Regions from separate parts of the Homo sapiens genome. Here region 2 is linked to region 1. Evidence: promoter capture Hi-C in human tissues and cell types (Jung and others, 2019). All regions are on one chromosome and are shown on one strand. Each heading gives the region's core, a stretch centred on a gene start or on the middle of the fragment in contact. The rest is flanking DNA. Distances are from core to core; before and after follow the strand shown. Region 1 holds the start of PLK1 (polo like kinase 1). Region 2 has its middle 11 kb from the start of RBBP6.

Region 1 (3,436 bases), core at 456-2,955:
GAGGAGTAGAGACTGTGGCAAAGAAGTCTGAAGGGGACAGCTGTTTTCCAGCCCAGCAAAGGGCTGCCCTAAGAAAATGCTGTCCTCGTATTACTGAAGCTTTCACCTGTTTAAAAGGAGTTCTGAATCAAACTTTTTGTTCAATCAAACCTTCCAATTTAAAAAATAAAAACAAATTCAAATTCTTTGTAAAAAAAAAATATTGCATTGGGGCACAAAAAAATAATGCATCTGTAGGCAAGATACTGACTTGTGGGTTGTCTCCTTCCTTTCTCCCAGCCTCCTCCAAATTCCAGCCTCTTGTAGTGATGTCAAGCACCCCTGCAGGCTCAGCAACTCACCTATTTTCACCTCCAGATCTTCATTCAGGAAAAGGTTGCCCAGCTTGAGGTCTCGATGAATAACTCGGTTTCGGTGCAGGTACTGGCAGCCAAGCACAATTTGCCGTAGGTAGTATCGGGCCTCAGGCTCAGTCAGGGCTTTCCTCCTCTTGTGCAGCTCCAGGAGAGACTGTGGGTGGGAAGGAGAGGGCAGGAGGGATGGGGAGGTGGATTGAGGCCGGTGGGGAAGGGAGAGGGTTACCAGGCAAAGGAAGCACAGGACTGGACTCTGGACTCCCAAGGGATGAAAGAGGGGTCTTGGTGGGTTTCTCTCCTTCCCTATGCCCCCACCCCATTCCTTCTCCAGCACAGCGGCATCTGGACCCTGCCTTAACACTGTCCACAACCATTCGCAGCACCCCTTCTCCTACTAGCTTCCCCCCTTACCTGGGGGTCCTCTCTCAGCCCCACTCCGGAAGCTCCGAGTCCCCAGCACCAGATCCCTTTCCTGACTCGTATCTCCCCCGGAAGGCCCGAAGTCTGGCTCCAACTACCCCCCCACTGACCCAGCTCCACCCCAGAAGCTCCCAGGGCGCGGCATCACTAACCTGGGACTCCTCCCTGGGTACTCCAGGGCCCTAGCGTCCATTACCAGCACCCCTCCCCCCAGCACCTCGCGTCCAGAAGCTGACTTCCCTATCAGCAACATGACTCAGACTCCACTTCACTGGAACCCCCTCCTCTAGCAGCTCCCAGAGCCAAGAAGCCCTTACCAAAGACACTTTCCATACGTAAGCGGGAGGCTCCCAGCACCCTTCTCTAGCAGCTCCAAGTCCCAGGCTCTCCCTTGCTGGGTACTCTTTCCAGCAGCTCCAGGTCTGGGCGCTCCAACTGCCCCGCAGGCAGTTCCAGTTCCCCAGCAGCGACACTCACCCTCCGGCGGCAGAGCTCCAACACCACGAACACGAAGTCGTTGTCCTCGAAAAAGCCGTGGAATCCTACGACGTGCTGGTGGGCGAGGCTGCGGTGAATGGATATTTCCATGGACATCTTCTCCCTCTGGTGCGGCTTGAGCAGCAGAGACTTAGGCACAATCTTGCCCGCGAACACCTCCTTGGTGTCCGCGTCCGAGATCTCGAAGCACTTGGCAAAGCCGCCCTTGCCCAAAAAGCGGCCCCGCACATAGCGCCGCCGGCTGCGTGGGTCCACTAGGACCTCCGGGATCTCTTTCGCCGGTGGAGCCGCCGCCGGAGCTCCGGGAGCTGCAACTCCGGGGACCCCGGCTTTCCCAGGGTCGGCCGGTGCCCGTGCCAGCTTCCCTGCAGTCACTGCAGCACTCATGCTCCCGAAGCTGCGCTGCAGACCTCGATCCGAGCAGAGCCTCCGCACCGCTCCGCTCCTCCCCGAATTCAAACGCGGCGCTGGGAACGTTACAAAAGCCTGCGCGCCACTGATTGGCCGCGGGGATTTAAAATCCAAACCCGCCCGCCGCGCGGCACCATGGGAGCGCCCTGCGCAGCAGCAGCCTTTAAACCCGGACCCAGCCGGGGAAAACCTGATTGACACGGACGCCCGAACACGTGGGATAGCCTGGGAAACCAAACCCGGCGTGGATGCGGAGACCCAGCCCCGAGAGAGGAGGAATTCCTTCGGGGTTTCTCCCTTTCTCGGGCGTCCGGGAAAGCTCCTGCGGTTCACTTGCGCCTCCTCCAGGAAGCTTTTACTTAAATCTTCCTCTACCTCGGGGCCAGGGAACAGTAGCATCGCCATCACCTGAGAGCTTGTTAGAACCGCAAAGGCAAACGTTCAGGCCCTACCCCAGACCTCCCGAGTCAGTGTCCGCCTCTCAACAAGACTGCTCAGGTGATTCCTACACATCCTGAAGTTGGAGAAGCACAGTACCAGAGCCCCCCATGATGCAACGAAGCTGTCTGGCCTCCTCGCTACTGAATTTCCCAGGGCCTAAAATAGTGGACACTCAGTTTCTTGGTCAGAGGGAGGGAAGGTTGGAAGAATGCCTAGCAAACTGGCAGGTCATAGCCAAATGTGTCTTGCGGGGTTTTGTTTGGCCTCCCCCCACGCCTTTTTTTTGTGTGTGTGACGGAATCTTGCTCTGTCGCCCAGGCTGGAGTGCAGTGGCACGATCTCAGCTCACTGCAACCTCTGCTTCCCGGGTTCAAGCAATCCTCCCGCCTCGGCCTCCCTAGCAGCTGGAATTACAAGCATGCACCACCATGCCCGGCTAATTTTTGTAATTTTAGTAGAGAAGAGGTTTCACCATGTTGGCCAGGCTGGTCTTGAACTCCTGACCTCAAGTGATCTGCCCCTCGGCCTCCCAAATGCTGGGATTACAGGCGTGAGCCACCGCGCCCCGCCATTGTAAAACATTTACAGCATTTAAAAGAGGAGCTCATAAAAGTTGGGATTTGTGGCCTTTCCTGAAAAAAATCAGCTCTAGCTACTTACTCTGTGCCTACATGCTTTCAGTTTGCCACAGTTTACAGCTACACCCGTTTGTTCTGTAGGTACTTGAGTGGCAACCCTGGAACAGTAAAATACCCACGTTAAAAGCTCTTTCTCTGTGCCTCCTTAGCACCCTCTGATCCTTCATAGAGCCCAGCAAAAATCAACCATACTATAAGCATCCTTCACCTGCCTTGCAGCTAAGCTGAAGGACAATGAGGACAATGATGCCGTCCTTTCTACCCCATGTCCCAAGCTCCCAGAGCAGTGCTTGGTAAAAAAAAAAGGGTACTTACTAAAATGTTGGCTGAATAAAAGGAAGACTTTGAAAAATTAAGTTATTTTGTACCCCTATAGTGTGAATTCTTTTTATTGAAATTTAATACACTTACAGAAAAAAATGTACATATTATAATTGTTCATAGAGCTCAGTGAATTTTCACAAACTGAACAAATCTGTAAACCACACCCAGATTGAGAAAGGGAACATGACAAACACCCTGCAAGTCTCCCTTGTGCCCTGTGCTGGGGGGTGCCAACACCACCACCTCCTAGTCTGATGATGTACTAGGAGATTCACAGACTCAGCCTGTAGTCATACTCATGGCTATGTTTTACTACAGCGAAAGGCTAGGAAGCAAAATCAGCAAAGG
Region 2 (3,436 bases), core at 636-3,135, 850 kb before region 1:
GTTTTGCCTTCTCAGCAGCCTTTTAAAGAATGTTCAGCAAGTATGATGGCTCAAGCCTGTCATCCCAGCACTTTGGGGAGATGAGGTGAGAGGATCGCTTGAGCTCAGGAGTTCAAGACCAGCCTCGGCAACATAGGGAGACCCCCATTTCTACCAAAAATTAAAAAATCAGCAGGGCGTGGTGGTGTGCACCTGCAGTCCCAGCTACTTGGGAGGCCAAGGTGAGAGGATCACTTGAGCCCAGGAGGTTGAGGTTGCAGTGAACTATGATCTTGCCACTCCGCTCCAGCCTGGGAGACAGAGCAAGACCCTGTTTTGTTTTGTTTTGTTTTGTTTTGTTTTGTTTTGTTTTCAGATGGAATTTCCCTCTGTTGCCCAGGCTGGAGTGCAGTGGCGTGATCTTGGCTCACTGCAACCTCTGCTTCCCAGGTTCAAGCAATTCTTCTGCCTCAGCCTCCTGAGTAGCTGGGATTACATGCATGAACCACCACGCCAAGCTAATTTTTATATTTTTAGTAGACATGGGGTTTCACTGTGTTGGCCAGGCTGGTCTCCAACTCCTGACCTCAAGTGCTCTGCCTGCTTGGCCTCCCAAAGTGCTGGGATTACAGGCGTGAGTCACTGCGCCAGGCCTAAATGAGACCCTGTCTCCTAAAAGAAAAAAAAAATTCAATTTGTAGAAATGTAAAGTAATAAATTAAGTCATCATATGAATAGATTTTCCGAAAATTGATGTGAGAAATCCATTGTTTTCCCACTATTCATTTAATTCAAAACTCATTCAATTTGAAAAATTTAAAAGTTTGACAATACCATGTGTGAGAGTTGGAGACCAGACCAATTGTTTCCCAAAGTGATTATTCCAATATACATTCCATCACTGGTGGGGGATGTATCCCAGTGATGGGATATATATTGGAACGATCACTTTGGGAAACAATTTGGCATTTTCTAGCAAATTTGAACACTCCTATACTCTATGTAATTTCATTCTTGCTTATATACCCATGGTAAAATTTAATTCTAGCAACTTTGAGCATTCCTTTACCCTATGAATCAGTAATTCTATTCTTGATTCTATACCCGAGGTAAAATTTAACTATACTTGCACAAGAATTCATGGAAGCTGTCTTTTTAAGACAAAAATCTGGAAAGCTTGGCATGGTGACACATACCTATAGTCCCAGCTACTCAGGAGGCTGATGCAGGAGGATTGCGTGAGCCCGGGAGGCCACCACTGCACTCCAGCCTGGGTGCCCAGAGGGAGACCCTGTCTCAAAAAAAAAAAAAAAGGCTGGGCATGGTAGCTCGTGCCTGTAACTGTAATCCCAGCACTTTGGGATGCCAAGGCAGGAGGAGGATTACTTGAGCTCAGGAGTTCTACATTAGTTTGGGCAACATGGTGAAATCCTATCTCTACAAAAAATGCAAAAATTAGCCAGGCGTGGTGGTGCTCACCTGTAGTCCCAGTTATTTGTGAGGCTGCAGTGGGATGATTGCTGGAGCCCAGAAGGCTGAAGGTGCAGTGAACTATGATAATCCCACTGCACTCTAGTCTGGGTGCCAGAGTGATACCTAGTCTCAAAAAAAAAAAAAAAAAAAAAAGCTGGAAACAACCCAAACACCCATCAACAAGAAAAGATTGTTGTTGTGGTCTATCCAGATAATGGGATATCATACAGCAGTGAAATAAATGAAATATAGCTACATGTAATAATATGGTGGTGAAATCTTTTTAGCTCATCTGGGTCCACAAAGCAAGTATCCAAAGATGACATAACTTTTTAATGAATTTCAAAGACGCATAAAACTGAGCAATACATTATTTAGCTAGGCATACCTCTTTTTAATTTAATTTTTTTTTTTTTTAGAGACAGAGTCTCGCTCTGTTGCCCTGGGTTCAAACAATCTTCCTGACTCAGCCTCCTGAGTAGCTAGGACCCACTCAGTTAACTAATTTTTTTTTTTTTTTTTTTTTTTTTTAGAGACAGGGTCCCACTACGTTGCCCAGAATGGTCTTGAACTCCTGGCCTCAGGGGATCCTCCTGTCTTGGCTTCTGGAAGTGCTGGGATTACAAGCAAGAGCCATGGCACTTAGACCTTAATACTTCTTTTAAAAGGGTGACTAAACAACACAAAATTCAGGGGCTGGGCATGGTGGCTCACACCTGTAATCCCAGCACTTTGGGAGGCTGAGGCAGGCGAATCTCTAGAGGTCAGGAGTTCGAGACCAGCCTGGCCAAAATAGTGAAACCCTGTCTCTACTGAAAATACAAAAATCAGTGGGGTGTGGTGGTGCTTGCCTGTAATCCTAGCTACTCCGGAGGATGAGGCAGGAGAATCACTTGAACCCGGAAGGCAGAGGCTGCAGTGAGCTGAGATCGCACCACTGCACTCCAGCCTGGGTGGCAGAGTGAGACTCTGTATCAAAAAAAAAAAAAAAAAAAAAAAGGCCGGGCGCGGTGGCTCATGCCTGTAATCCCAGCAGTTTGGGAAGCCGAAGCGGGCAGATCACCTGAGGTCGGGAGTTCAAGACCAGCCTGACCAACATGGAGAAACCCCGTCTCTACTAAAAATACAAAATTAGCTGGGCATGGTGGCACATGCCTGCAATCCCAGCTACTTGGGAGGCTGAGGCAGGAGAATCATTTAACCCCCCAGGAGGCAGAGGTTGTGGTGAGCTGAGATCGTGCCACTGCACTCCAGCCCGGGCAACAAGAGCGAAACTATGTCTCAAAAACAAACAAACAAACAAACCCCCACCAAACAAACAAAATTCAGGATGGTGATTACCTCTGAGATGGAAAGATGAGATAGGAGGAAACCATCCGATCCCTCCATGTCCCCTCCCAGAGATGTGAGTTGTTGGTAATGATGTTGTTCTTGGGTGAGTGAGTGAGTTCACAAGTGTTCATTATTTTACTATAAATAAATAAAGAAAAAATAATTAAACTAACAGAGAGTCATGCCTAGGGCAATGATGATGAGGTGTTACGACATTAGGATTATGATTAATTCATTTATGTTTTCCTGAGTTTCCTTCTCTCCCCCCCTCCACGAACCGACTGCCAGCAAAGCATCTTATAAACATTCAGACAGAAAAATGTAGTTCCTTTCAAAGAAACAATAATTAGGCTAGCTCCCTAAATCTAGTTAAGATTAGATTACTCTGATTAGATTAATCCAGATTAAATTTGGCTGATCTAGTTATTTACGGTTATGGCATTAGCTGGTGGTGTTTGTGTGTGTGTGTGTGTGTGTGTGTGTGTGTGTTTGTTTTTTGAGACAGGGTCTTGCTGTGTTGCCCAGGATGGAGTGCAGTGGCACAACCACAGCTTTCTGCAGCCTCAACCTCCTCGGCTCAAGCGATCCTTCTGCCTCAGCCTCCTGTGTAGCTGGGACCACAGGCACGTGCCACCACTCCTGGCTAATTTTT

What was found. Contacts are between HindIII fragments. The study calls those that stand out against the background at their distance.
Region 2: a contact is called between a fragment that was not itself captured here and the fragment with the promoter of PLK1 in region 1, in 1 of the 25 tissues and cell types used here (dorsolateral prefrontal cortex).

Annotation. Positions count from the first base shown.
Region 1 is chr16:23,677,158-23,680,593 of GRCh38, reverse strand. It overlaps PLK1 (polo like kinase 1), which reads right to left and starts at 1,705. Exons shown (of 10, transcript NM_005030.6): 1 at 1,254-1,705; 2 at 342-510. The coding sequence starts at 1,661. DCTN5 (dynactin subunit 5) reads right to left here. Exons shown (of 6, transcript NM_032486.4): 6 at 3,122-3,436. The HindIII fragment of the contact is 4,791 bases long and covers 1,069-3,436 here.
Region 2 is chr16:24,526,839-24,530,274 of GRCh38, reverse strand. No RefSeq gene overlaps it. Among named protein-coding and RNA genes, the nearest start is that of RBBP6, 11 kb to the left of the region's middle. The HindIII fragment of the contact is 3,801 bases long and covers 1-3,436 here.